Linked DNA regions of Homo sapiens: region 1 is linked to region 2. The links are contacts of gene promoters, found by promoter capture Hi-C in blood cells and fetal thymus (Javierre and others, 2016). All regions are on one chromosome and are shown on one strand. Each heading gives the region's core, a stretch centred on a gene start or on the middle of the fragment in contact. The rest is flanking DNA. Distances are from core to core; before and after follow the strand shown. Region 1 holds the start of GLYCTK (glycerate kinase). Region 2 holds the start of RASSF1-AS1 (RASSF1 antisense RNA 1).

The links. Contacts are between HindIII fragments. The CHiCAGO score rates a contact against its expected background, and 5 or more counts as called.
Region 1: a contact is called between the fragment with the promoter of GLYCTK here and a fragment that was not itself captured in region 2, in 1 of 17 cell types (non-activated CD4 T cells). The highest score is 5.8, in non-activated CD4 T cells.

Annotation. Positions count from the first base shown.
Region 1 is chr3:52,283,929-52,290,454 of GRCh38, forward strand. It overlaps GLYCTK (glycerate kinase), which reads left to right and starts at 3,900. Exons shown (of 5, transcript NM_145262.4): 1 at 3,900-3,948; 2 at 6,376-6,526. The coding sequence starts at 6,415. It overlaps GLYCTK-AS1 (GLYCTK antisense RNA 1), which reads right to left and starts at 5,805. Exons shown (of 1, transcript NR_046719.1): 1 at 4,652-5,805. LOC107986086 (a long non-coding RNA gene) reads right to left here and starts at 4,092. Exons shown (of 3, transcript XR_001740699.2): 1 at 3,905-4,092; 2 at 600-663. RefSeq lists enhancers at 3,485-4,226, 3,532-4,731, 3,558-3,667, 6,471-6,526. The HindIII fragment of the contact is 11,873 bases long and covers 1-6,526 here.
Region 2 is chr3:50,331,027-50,338,143 of GRCh38, forward strand. RASSF1 (Ras association domain family member 1) reads right to left here. Exons shown (of 6, transcript NM_007182.5): 2 at 6,879-6,985; 3 at 1,024-1,128; 4 at 533-830; 5 at 308-423. RASSF1-AS1 (RASSF1 antisense RNA 1) reads left to right here and starts at 6,485. Exons shown (of 1, transcript NR_109831.1): 1 at 6,485-7,117. RefSeq lists silencers at 5,889-6,198, 6,269-6,448 and enhancers at 6,520-7,091, 6,919-7,117. The HindIII fragment of the contact is 4,225 bases long and covers 3,619-7,117 here.

The DNA of each region.
Region 1 (6,526 bases), core at 2,650-5,149, 2.0 Mb after region 2:
TCTCCCACCTCAGCCTTCCGAGTAGCTGGAATTATAGGTGCGTGACACCACATCCGGCTAATTTGTTGTTGTTGTTGTTGTTGTTGTTGTTGTTGTATTTTTAGTAGAAACGGGGTTTTGCCATGTTGGCCAGGCTGGTCTCAAACTCCTGACCTCAAGTGATCCGCTCACCTCGGCCTCCCAGTTTTAAGGTGTTGTACAGCCCTTACATAGGACACAGCTCCACTTTACCCTGCCTCCAACACAGCTGACCTTCCCTCCCACGGAGTAACCCTGCAAGCCCAGGCTGGGCACAGTGGCTTACACCTATAGTCCCAGCACTTTCAGAGGCTGGGGCAGGAGAACTGCTTGAGCCCAGGAGTTTGAGACCAGCTTGGGCAACAAAGCAAGACCCTGTCTCCACAAAAAATTAGCCAGGCATGGTGGTGTGCACCTGTAGTCCCAGCTACTTGAGAGGCTGAGGCAGGAGGATCGCTACAACCCAGGAGGTTGAGGCTATAGTGAGCTGTAATCACCACTGTCCTCCAGCCTGGGCGACAGTGTGAGACTTTGTCTCCTAAAAACAAAAAAAAATTAAAATTAAAAGTACCACTTCTTACCTATCCCAGCAGCTACAGCATTCGGCCCACACAGAAGGCACTCAGGAAATGTCTTGAATTATGTCTGAGGAAGGAATAAATGCATGGAAGGAATATAGCTGACTATAACCAAGAAAAAACAATAAAATTTTCAGTATTTACAACCTCTCCCACATTAAAGAGGGCAATTCCACCTACGGATGCCTTTGTTTTGATGATGTGGTGGGAAATCATTTAGGAGAAGGAATACAAAGTCTCATATTTTAAAAGGAAAAATCCAGGGAGAAGGACGGGTGTGGTGGCTCACACCTGTAATCCCAGCACTTTGGGAGACAGAGGCAGGAAGATGGTTTGAGCGCAGAAGTTTGAGACCAGCCTGGCCAACATGGCAAAACCACTTCTCTACAAAAAATACAAAAAATTAGCTGGGTGTGGTGGTGCACGTCTGTGGTCCCAGCTACTTGGGAGACTGAAGTGGGAGGATCACTTGAGCCTCGGAGGTGGAGGTTGCAATAATCCAAGATGATGGCACTGAACTCCAACCTGGGTGACAGAGTGAGATCCTGTCTCAAATAAAAATATATGTATATATAAGAAAAAGAAAAATCCAGGGAGAGAGCTGGAAGTGGGGGCCAGAGGAAGGGAAAGGTTCATGACAAGAGCACAGCATGGTTTGGAGACCTAAGGAGAGATGTAGCAACTGCCAAAGGGAGCAGGTAGGGGGTGTGAAAAGAAAATAAAATTTTAGGACATTCCCAATTTATAATGTGAAGGAGAAAAGTGAAGCCCTGGAAACTGAGCAGGCATTGCTTTTTTTTTTTCTTCTCTGATGCATGACTGCTGCTTCCTGATCTTTGTATTGAAATGTTATACATTAACCAGGCTCCCTATTCTTCATTCAGACTTAGACTAGATGATGTGGGAGATAGAGACCCTTGTGATTGTTGTCTCTTTACAATAGAATGTTAAGCAAACTCCTTCCAGTATAATCAATAGTAGCCAACCAAATCTTGTATTTATGTTAGCCTTTTTTTGGAAAATGTTGTAATTCTGGTCAGCACTCCTGTTTTTGCCTATATAAACAATCTTTTTTTTTTTTTTTTTTGAGACGGAGTCTCGCTTTGTCACCCAGGCTGGAGGGCAGTCACGCAATCTCGGTTCACTGCAACCTCCCAGGTTCAAGCAATCCTCCTGCCTCAGCCCCACCAGTAGCTGGGATTACAGGCACACACCACCATGCCTAGCTAATTTTTGTATTTTTAGTAGAGACGGGGTTTCGCCATGTTGGCCAGGCTGGTCTTGAACTCCTGACCTCAGGTGATCCACCTGCCTCAGCCTCCCAAAGTGCTAGGATTACAGGTGTGAGCCACTGTGCCCGGCCCATGCCCAGCTAATTTTTGTATTTTTTAGTAGAGATGGGGTTTCACCATATTGGTTAGGCCAGTCTCGAACTCCTGACCTCAAATGATCCCACCTGCCTCAGCCTCCCAAAGTACTGGGATTGCAGGCATGAGCCACTGCACCTGTCCCAAAAACACATTTCTAATGTCAACCTAAAAATCATCAAAAGGTTCGATATCCAGTTAAAAGAATTTATTCAAGCATAAAGTGTGAGGGCAGCCATCCAGGGAAACACAGACACCAAGCAGTGGCAATTAGTGTTCTCCAGCATGGGGAAAGATGAAGGTTGTTTATATAGGCCGGGCGCCTGTAATTGTTTATACGCCTGTAATCCCTGCACTTTGGGAGGCCAAGGGCGGTGGATCACAAGGTCAGGAGTTCGAGACCAGCCTGGCCAACATGGTGAAACTCTGTCTCTACTAAAAATACAAAAATTAGCTGGACGTGGTGGCGGGCGCCTGTAGTCCCAGCTATTCGGGAGGCTGAGGCAGGAGAATTGCTTGAACCTGGGAGGCGGAGGTTGCAGTGAGCCGACATCGTGCCCAGGCTGCAGTGCAGTGGCCGTGAGCTGAGACTGTGCCATTGCAGTCCAGCCTGGGTGACAGAGCAAGACTCCACCTCAAAACCAAGAGAAAGAAATGTGTTTTTGTTTGTTGGTTTTTTTTTGAGACAGGGGCCCAGGTTGGAGTGCAGTGGCGTGATCAAGGTTCACTGCAGCCTCTACCTCCCAGGCTCAGGTGATCCTCCCATCTCAGCCTCCTGAGTAGCTGGGACTACAGGAGCATGCCACCACACCTGGCTCTTTTTTTTTTGGTAGAGATAAGTTTCGCCATGTTCCCAGGCTGGTCTCGCATTCCTAGGCTCAAGCGATCCGCCCACCTTGGCCTCCCCAATGTTGGGATTACAGGCGTGAAACACTGCGCCCTGCCAAGAAACATGTTTCAATAAAATTGTTAGGAAATCAAGTGTGTGATTTGTGATGCAACTCTCTCCTCTATCTCCCTAAGAAAACATCAGTAAAAACAGTGAACTGTTTTGTATTTTTGGAGTCTGATCAGGACTCATCTTATGAATGTGGGAAGGCATCCAGCCAACACAGGGTAGGCCCCGGATGAGAGTAGGGACAGCGAGGTAGGCCCAGAGTCATTAGCGTTTACATGCCGCTTATGTGCTTGAGGATCGCAGAATGGAACTCTTGCTAAGCCAGAGCTGTATTTGGTGGCCCATGGTGGGAGAGGGAAGAACAATAATAAGTTGTGGAATAAAAGCCATGGAGAGGAGCGGGAATTACTTAATCTGGCTCCAGAAGGGGTGAGTTGTGGGGAAGTAGTGATTCTCAGTTCGTTTGCTCAGCCCAGTCAGTGCCTGACACTCAGGGTGCATCTGCTGACTGACCGTACAGGATAAAGGAAGGGAGAGGCCGGGTGCGGCGGCTGAAGTCTGTAATCCCATCACTTTCGGAGGCTGAGGTGGGTGGATCGCTTGAGGTTAGGCGTTCGAGACCAGCCTGGGCAACATGGCGAAAGCCCGTCTCTACTAAAAAATACAAAAATTAGCCCGGAGTGGTGGCACATGCCTGTAATCCCAGCTACTCGGGAGGCTGAGGCATGAGAATCGCTTGAATCCGGGAGGCGGAGGTTGCATTGGGCCGAAACCGCGACTCTGCACTCCAGTCTGGGCGACAGAATGAGACCCCGTCTCAAAAAAAAAATCGGCAATCGGTGAGGCGGGGATTATTACCCTCAATGTAGAGATTTAAAAAATGAGGACTGAAGGTGACTCCTTCCAGGTCTGTCAGTGGCCAGCAAAGAGCCAATATGCTAAACTCTCCCCTCCCGGACACCGGCTTCAGCCAGAGCTCGCACCCGCCTGCGCCGCTCCACCCACCCACACTTCCGGCTTCCGCTCCGCCCACCCCCTAGTACTTCCGTTCTCCAGCGCTGGGCACCGCGGCCGGAGCTGTGGGCTGGTAAGTCTGCGCCGCCAGGGCTCGCATGGCCTTCAGAAGCGGTCCCTGGGCTGGGCGATGACGGGTCCTGGTGGCAGCAGGCCCTTCTTTCTCGCATCACCGGGCATTACGCGGCAGCCATTTCCCTCGCTAAGGCCCTACCTTAGGATGACGTCACTTCCGGCCCCCTACTGTCTAGGGAAAGCCGGAAATGGTACCAGCCTTCTTTGATGGCGGGGAGGAGTCAAGACCGGTAGTCTTCCTATTTCCGTTGTTTTGCTCTGGAGCCTCCCGGAGTTTCGGAGAGACCGTGTCTTGGATAGAATTGGAGGACTTAGCAAATAAAAATGCAAAGCGTCCAGTTACATTTTTTTTGAGTTAGAATCTCACTCTGTCACCCAGGCTGGAGTGCAGTGGCGCGATCTCGGCTCACTGCAACCTCCGCCTCCCCTGTTCAAATGATTCTCATGCCTCAGTCTCCCGAGTAGCTGGGATTACGGGCGCCCACCACACCCGGCTAATTTTTGTATTTTTAGAAGAGACGGGGTTTCACCACGTTGGTCAGGCTGGTCTCGAACTCCTGACCTCAGGTGATGCGCCCGCCTCAGCCTTCCAAAGTGCTGGGATTACAGGCGTGAGCCACTGCGCCGGGCCACGTCCAGTTAAATTTGAGTTAAGATAAACGACGAATAATTGTTAAGTCCTAAACATTGTATGCACATACTTATACTTTAAAAATTACTTGTTTATTTGAAATTCAAATTTAACCGGAAGTCCTGTATTTTCTCTGGCAGCCTTAGCATTGAGCGTCCCCCTGTCCTGTGCTCATACCCAGTGGCAAGGCTGGGATCTTCTAGGCTCTTGTCCATCTGGGAAATAGATACAAATTTCATCCAGGCTATAAAGACCGGCTGTCTTAGTTGCTAAGATGCTTTTAGCTCCAAGTCCAATGGGCAAGCTCCAGGGGTCCCCCTGGCCAAAACTGGACCCATTTTCGGAATCCCCATGACGATGCCCTCTGTGTTCCCTTTCACAACAGAAGTCAGGCATGGCTGTCTTTTCTTACCGGAGAGCTGAGAACTAGGCAAGCAAAATGGTCAAAGTCTAGAAGTAACCACCATATTTGGGTGTGGGGTAAACCGGTGTTTGAGATCTGTGTTGCAGTGGACAGTATCAGAGAGCCTGAGGTTGTTAAGGGAAGAGCGTAGTGTTAATCTCACCCCATGTCTCATTTTGCGGATGAGGCCCAGTGAGAGAAATGGAGGTGTCCCAGCCACTCAGAAAGCCTATAGTAGAGCTGGAACCTCAATTCCCAGCCTCCTTACCCTGCTCAGTCCATACTTGCTGATGAAGTCAGCTTGCAACATTTATGGTAGGCATTTATTAAAGTAGATGCAATAGTACATATGTAGTACAGATGAGCTGTTTGGGTCTTTGTTGTTCCTATACCCCTCTACAGCTTCCTGACCTTCGCCCCAAGGCTTCTTTAGCTTTTACTCTGCCCAGTGGGGAAAATGGCTATGGGCTCAGTTATGGGAGCCTGGCCTTTGCCTACTTCAGCCCTTGGGCTCTCACCACTGTGGGTGGTGTGACCTAGGACTTGTTTTTGTTATCTTGGAACCAGAAGGCGTGTTCTTGGCAGGGTTGGGTCTGGCCAACTGTGTGGGTAGAAGGGCATCCTTTTCTGTCCTGCAATTGGGCTTCATGGCACATGGCCTCACATGGTGCCTGGGGACTTTTCTAAGGTTCCACCATGAGCCAGACTTTGCCCTCACTCCTGATTTGAACCTAAACCTCTTGCTGAACTGGTCCTGCATACTGAGATTCCTCAGATTGCTTGCCCTGAGGATGTGTTCTGGGTTTGACCTGATAAACCTGCAGCCTCCTATAGACCCTGACTTCCCAGGCTCCTAATCCCAGTCTCATGAGATAATGAAATAGAGAAGACTGGAGGTCAATGGGCTCAGGGTCAGTTGGTGGGACAATCAACAGCTTCCTGGCAGCAGAGGTGGTAAAGAGGCAAGGAAGGAGTGCCAGAAAGGGGCGTTGCCCCAGGGTAACAGCGCAGAAGTGCAGGGGGTGGAAAAGGGGTGGGATGGGAGCCCACTGGTAGAAATTACTCCCTCTGTCAATGATTAACTCCCAGCCAAAGGGGTGACCTGGGAGGAGGGCCCAGCTAATAGGAACTTTGGACTTGAGGCAGAGTATCCAGAGGGCCGGCATGTGGTCTGCAGAAGAGGAGGACGTGGCTGGGTGGCAGGGCTGGTCTCCAAGGACGAGTAAGATCCTGCAGCTGCAGGCTTCAGGAAGTCTCCTGGGGCTATCAGATGGCTCCTTCTTGTAGCAGCAGCTGTGGGGTCCACTGGCCCTGAGCCCTCAGAGGGGCGGCCGTGGGGGACCTCCTGTCTTTTGCCTTGCAAGGGCCTCAGTTGTGCTTTTTCCCTCTAGGCAGCCATGGGTGCCAGGCAGTGCTGAGAGCAGTGGGGCATGGCTGCAGCCCTGCAGGTCCTGCCCCGCTTGGCCCGAGCCCCCTTGCATCCACTCCTCTGGCGGGGCTCAGTGGCCCGTCTGGCCAGCAGCATGGCCTTGGCAGAGCAGG
Region 2 (7,117 bases), core at 4,481-6,980:
AAGCTTCCAGGTAAAAAGTCTGAAGGGGGCCTCCTCATGTCATTAGATGGACTCCTGCATCTCCAGAAGATTTTCCACACCAGGAAAGATCAAAGCACCAAGGCAATTCTTCCTGGCTTCTTGGGACAACCCTAGGCTTTGGCATGAGTGGTCTGGAAGCCTTTGCTTTAGTTACAATGCCTATACACTCCTGGAACTGTTTTGCAGGGCTTGTCTTCCAGCACAATTCCTCCTCCAAGCCTTACTGTAGCTACAGCCCATCAGTCCTGTCTAGTGACAACCAAGAAACTAAGAACTATGTACTCACGTTCACCTCCCCAGAGTCATTTTCCTTCAGGACAAAGCTCAGGGCCTTGTCACTGGGCCCTGCCAGGAGCCGCAGCCGCAGGGGCTGCTCATCATCCAACAGCTTCCGCAAGTACACTGTGAAGGGGAAGTAATGATCAGAGACAGGGCCAGCTGCTCAGCCCCTGCATGCTCAGGTGCATGCGTATATACCCTCACATAGGGCAGGGTGGGGTGGGAAGCCCACCTTGGCCGTGACGCTCAGCGCGCTCAAAGAGTGCAAACTTGCGGGGGTCATCCACCACCAAGAACTTTCGCAGCAGGGCCTCAATGACTTCACGTGCCCTTGTGCGTGACAGCACATGCAGGTGCTTGACAGCATCCTTGGGCAGGTAAAAGGAAGTGCGGCGCCTGACACTTGTGCCCCGTCCTGGGCCCCGCCGGGCATCCTGCAAGGAGGGTGGCTTCTTGCTGGAGGGCACAGAGACAGGGCGCACCAGCTTCAGCTGAACCTTGATGAAGCCTGTGTAAGAACCGTCCTTGTTCTAAAGAAATAGAGAAACCAAACCTTGATAATAGGTTCCAGGTGAGATGTCAGTCTACTTGGGGCTAGGCTGGGTATGCACAAATTACTGCTTGCGCCCACCCAAGATAACCTCAGTTGTGACCCTCTGAGTATCAGGCACATAGCTGGGTACCTGCTCCTCCCCACGCCCCCTTCCTGAGCAGTCAACTCACCAAGCTCATGAAGAGGTTGCTGTTGATCTGGGCATTGTACTCCTTGATCTTCTGCTCAATCTCAGCTTGAGAAAGGTCAGGTGTCTCCCACTCCACAGGCTCGTCCTGCAAGATGGGCCAGCATGGACACAGGGCCCTTGAGGAACCCAGGGCTTCTCTGAAAAATGGCCTCTGGGGCAGTCTTTGGAAACTGACTGCCTTTGGCCCCCTGTCCCTGATGTACATATACATAGCTGGTGCCCACCCTGAACCCACCACTGCTCCTGGTTTTGCATGCTCTGGGTGGATAAGGGAAAGACAGAATCATTTGGCTTCTCTCTGCTGCCTGCCTAGGGCCTCAGCACTGAATGTAGCCTTAAGGATACCACAGAAGCAGGGGCAACTGAAGGCACATGGCCAGGGGCCAGGAACAGCTGAGGGACTCTGAAGAGGGACTCTCATTTAAAGTAAAATCAGGCTGGGTGTGGTGGCTCACATCTGCAATCCCAGCATTTTGGGAGGCTAAGGTAGGAGGATCACTTGATCCTCAGGAGTTTGAGACCAGCTTGGGCAACATAGCAAGACCTCATCTCTACTAAAAAAAGAAAAAAAAAAATTAGCCAGGTGTGGTGGTGTGCCTGTAGTCCCAACTGTTCAGGAGGCTGAGGTGGGAGGATCGTTTGAGCCCGGGAGATTGCAGCTACAGTAAGCTATTATCGTGTCACTGCACTCCAGCCTGGGGAACTGAGTGAGACCCTGCTTCAAAACACAAAAAACAAAAACAGGCTGGGCACGTTGGCTCACGCCTGTAATTCTAGCACTTTGGGAGGCCGAGGCGGGTGGATCACCTGAGGTCAGGAGTTTGAGACCAGCCTGACCAACATGGAGAAACCCCGTCTCTACTAAAAATACAAAATTAGCCAGGCGTGGTGGCACATGCCTGTAATCCCAGCTACTTAGGAGGCTGAGGCAGGAGAATTGCTCAAACTCGGGAGGTGGAGGTTGCAGTGAACTGAGATCGTGCCATCGCACTCCAGCCTGGGCAACAAGAGCGAAACTCGGTCTCAAAAAAAAAAAAAATCAGTAAAATCACACCTCAATTGCACATTCTGATCACAGCACCCTAGTTGAGTTGGAGTGAGGGTTTGTCCTGGAGAAGGCAGCCCATTTTTCTCCTCTGCCCCGGCACGGGGCCATGACCCACTGCAGGGTGAGAGGAGTGGAGAGTGGTGCACATCAGTAGTCCAGCCACCAGTGGACAGAGTAGTACTTGGAGCCAGTTCTCCATGTCTCACACATAGTGAGAAAAATCACTGTGACATGATGTTTAACCTTGACCCAAGCTGCATAAAAGGCAGCTTTAGGCCAGGCTCCAATCTGCCAGAGGTACACAGGCAGCTTCCTGGTGGGTTTCTGCACCTGCCTGTGCTGTCTGGAGATTTGGCCCAAAGATTTTTTTTTTTTTTGAGACGAAGCCTCACTCTGTCGCCCAGGCTGTAGTGCAGTGGCTGGATCTTGGCTCACTGCAAGTTCTGCCTCCTGGGTTCAAGCGATTCTCCTGCCTCAGACTCCCGAGTAGCTGGGACTACAGGCGCGTGCCACAACAACACCCGGCTAATTTTTGTATTTTTAGTAGAGATGGGATTTCACCACATTGGCCAGGTTGGTCTTGAACTCCTGACCTCAAGTGATCCGCCTGCCTTCACCTCCCAAAGTGCTGGGATTACAGGCGTGAACCATCGTACCCGACCCAGAGATTTTTAACTCGACCACTCACTCCCCACCTCATCTAGGGACTGGATTCTTGCCGGAAGGGTGGAGTGTGGGACAGGGCAGCCAGGGCTCTGAACCGACTTTCTTCTCCCAGACTCCCTTGGCCCCACTGCATCAGCCTTACTTCCTGTTGACGTCAGATAGGCCCTAGTTAGAATGCGAGTGTCACAGACACAGCTAAGCTCAGCGCTGACCAATACTTTGTCCCAGAAGAATTCCCACAAGGTTTCCTGTAGAATGATCTTGTGCCTAGCCCAGGAGAGCCAGGGTTCTCCCTGACTCCGCCCTGGAGTCCCCTTAAGCACTTAAACCATCTGATGGGGACAAATGGAGAGGACAGATGAGGGAGCAGGGTGGAGCGTTTTAGCAGAATGCTCCTTACCCAGAACCCGCTGCTATTCTGCAGCCAGCAAGGATGTGGGGCTAAGAACTAAGGCCAGGGCCTTACAGGAAAAAGGTAAAGGGGGAGGGGTGGGAATTTAAGCTCATTTTCTTCCCCAAGTATCCAAAGGTCTCCTGGATGGAGAAGAGCACTGGAGTAAAAACCCCAGTACAAACCTTACTGGGGACAGTGGGCAACCTTGTCGGGTTAGTAAAAACAAATGGTGTGGGCCCTGGAAAATGAGGGCTGGAGGCTGTGAATAAAGCAGTGGATGTGTTTGTTCAGTACACCAACGGGAAGAAGTACCCAGATGGGAGGAGTACTAGGGGCAGGAGAAATGCCAGACAGACTCTAGTGCCAGGGCAAGAAGGAAGATCATTTTGTTTGCAGAACAGGGAGGGCACAGGGATGGTGCTAACTTGTTCTTGTGATGGCTCTGAGCTCCTACCTAACAATGAGAAAGCTTGCTCCTTCTTCCCTTCCTGGATGACCCAGGAGCCCTGGGCTGGGATGCAGTGACCTCATTTCCAGCCCCTTCCCTTCTGGTGATGAACCTCCCTATCTTCACTCAGAAAACAGACTTGGATTAGAGGCACTGCACAGCCCTTCCAGGATTCTAAAGGAGGAAGAGTTTCTTTTTCTGTTTCCAAAGCTGCCTGCTGGAAGAGGATTTCAACAGCCATCCCAGTCGGATGCACAGCAGGACCATGGAATTTCCCTTCTGCACCATAGGGACCCACCCTCCACTCTACCACTGTCCATAAAAACTGATGGTTTTTTTTTTGAGACAGAGTCTCGCTCTGTTTTCCAGGCTGGAGTGCAGTGGTGCGATCTTGGCTCATTGCAATCTCTGCCTCCTGGGTTCAAGCAATTCTCTGCTTCAGCCTCCCAAGTAGCTGGGATTACAGGTGCCTGCCACCACAACTGGCTAATTTTTTGTATTTTTAGTCGAGACGGGGTTTCACCATTTTGGCCAGGCTGGTCTTGAACTCCTGACCTCATGATCCACCCACCTCGGCTTTCCAAAGTGCTGGGATTAAAGGTGTGAGCCACTGCACCTGGCCTAAAACTGATGTTTTTTTCTTTTTTTTTAACATATAACTTGGGACTTCTCAGCCTCCTATTCTTTCTTTTTTTTTTTTTTTTTTTTTGAGACAGAGTCTTGCTCTCTCATCCAGGCTGGAATGCAGTGGCCCAGTCTCGACTCACTGCAACCTCTGTCTTCTGGGTTCAAGTGATACTCCTGCCTCAGCCTCCCCAGTAGCTGGGATTACAGGCACACACCACCATGGCCAGATAATTTTTTTGTATTTTCAGTACAGACGGGGTTTTGCTATGTTGGCCTGGCAGGTCTCGAACTCTTGGCCTCAAGTGATCTGCCTGCCTTGGCCTCCCAAAATGCTGAGATTACAGGCATGAGTCACCAAGCCCAGCCTTCTTTCTTTTTTTTGAGACAGAGCCTCACCCTGTCACCCAGGTTGGAGTGCAGTGGCACGATCTTGGCTCACTGCAACCTTTGCCTCCCGGTTGAAGTGATTCAGTCTCCCAAGTAGCTGGGACTACAGTCACACACCACCATGCCCGGCTAATTTTTGTATGTTTAGTAGAGATAGGGTTTCACCATGTTGGCCAGGCTGACCTCGAATTCCTGATTGCAAATGATCCACCTGCCTTGGCCTCCCAAAGCATTGGCATTAGAGGTGTGAGCCACCGTACTTGGCTTCCTTTTCTATTTTTGAGACAGAGTCTCACTCTGTCACTCAGGCTGGAGTGCAGTGGCACGATCTTGGCTCACTGCAACCTCTGCCTCCCAGGTTCAAGTGATCCTTCTGCCTCACCCTCCCAAGTAGCTGGGATTACAGGTGTGCACCTCCGTGGCTAGCCCTCCTTTTCAATTGGTTAGTGTCTTGTGGTTTTCCCACCTTTCCACAGTGGAAAATGGCTCAGGACTGACTGACATGAAGACAAGCCCAGGGGTCTACACTCAACTCAACCCTTGCACCCAAGCTCTGGGCTAAGATTTTGGCGTGCTGAGCACCACCCATTTTGTAAGGAATTTTGTAAAATTTTATCTGAAGCATCACTCACAACTCCACTTTCTTTACTTAAATAAGGATTTCCGCCCCATTTCTGCCAGGCATACTGAGCTTCACAGTCCCTGTTTCTTTTTCCTGGTGCCTAGGCCTGGTTCTCTGAGCCTGGTGGTCACACCAATGGCATCTGGCACACAGTTCTCCGATAATGGGGATACCTAGGAGGTTCCGAGACACCTTACAGTCCTGGGTTAGTAACCTGGATCTCTTTTTCCACCTCTTTAGGCATTTTATAATCTAGCTTTCCCCCTTCCTGTGGGTAAAGTGCTCCTGAATGCTTATGGTCCAAAACAAGACTTCTTTCCTATCTATTCCCAAATCTTTCTCCAGATCCACCCTAGAGGAAGGGAACAGAATCTTCCACATTCCAGCAGCTGGTGACAGGCCAGAACAGGGAAGAGGTGAGGGCTCAGCTGGCTCCATACAGGAGTGCAGATGGAGGAGCAGGATCTCTCTCTGCCTCTCAAGTTTTCCTAAACATACTTCTCAATTCCTGGCGAGGACTCTTCCCTCTCCACATCCTCCCCTAGTCTCCCCAAGGAGGGAGCAGGAGCATTCGAACGCGGAAATCGAGGTGCTAGTCCAAACTGCTCGGTCGGCTTTAGTCATAGCTGGATAATGCCCGGCTCAGGTCTACCACAAGCCATACAGCTGCTTTTTCCGTGTTCAACCTGTCTGTGACAGAAACCAAGGGGGCCCCGGCACCCAGCATCTAGGCGGTGGAATCGGGGTCTTACGCACGGTTCCGCGGGCAGGTCCCCGGCCAGGACCCGCGGGGAGCCACGTAGCCAGGAGGGTGGGGCTGCCCACCGACCCAGGACGCGGCAACGGACCGGGGAGGGCGGAGCTCCAGCGACCGCTTCCCCTCCCGCCCGCCGGCACCCCCTGGCTCCCACCTGGTCCCGGCGCGGCCTGCGAGCTAGCGAGGTTCGCGCGGTGAAGTACTGCTCGAGCTCCGAGTCCGAGTCCTCTTGGCTGCAGTAGCCACTGCTCGTCGTGCTGCTCCAGGTCATTTCGAAAGAAGGCGCCTCCGCCTCGCCCATAGCCGTACCCGCCCGTCCCCCAGTCCTGCGCGTCCGTAGCCGCCAACCACCGCCCCGGTCGCGTGCGTGCGTGTACGCGTGTCAGTGTGCGCGTGCGCCCGGGCCAGAGCCGCGCCGCAACCGTTAAGACTGAAACGTAGATCGCCGGGATCTAGCTCTTGTCTCATTGGGGCAGGAACGCCGGGGCGGGGACACGCACGCTTCGCCCCCAGGAATGACCTCATCGCTCCGGAGCTCCACTCACAGACCCCACCTACCACAGGGAACGGGGGCGGGTGCCAGCGTCCGGGCAAGCGCACAAGAGTGGCCTCTGGCCGGAGGCGAGGGCGGGAAGGTGCGGGAAGTGCGCGTGCGCGGAGCCTGGGTCAGCCTGGGCCCGGGTCCGCTTGCAGCGGGTGGAGTACTTGCGGAGCCGGCAATCCAGGCTCCCCTCCCAGCCCCCGCGCAGAATTAGCCTCTCTGTGCCGCCGGGAAATCGGCAATTAGAACGCTCCTTGCGCGCGGCACCCAGGCAGCCCTCGAGAATGCCTGCACTGTGGCCTGCCCATCCTCGCCCTTCCCATACGCCCTCGGCCCCGCGCTCACCACGTTCGTGTCCCGCTCCACCGCGGGTTCCCAGCCCAGGTCCCGGGGCCCGCAACAGTCCAGGCAGACGAGCGCGCGGCAGCGGTAGTGGCAGGTGAACTTGCAATCTGCAGAGAGGCCTGGCGGTGAGGCGGAGGAGCTCCAGGTCGGGGAAATGTCCCGGAGATTGAAGGGAAGCCCCAGGGAGAGGGCCGCTGCTCGCCAGGCTCCGCAGGCCCGACCTATCTCAGTGGGTTACC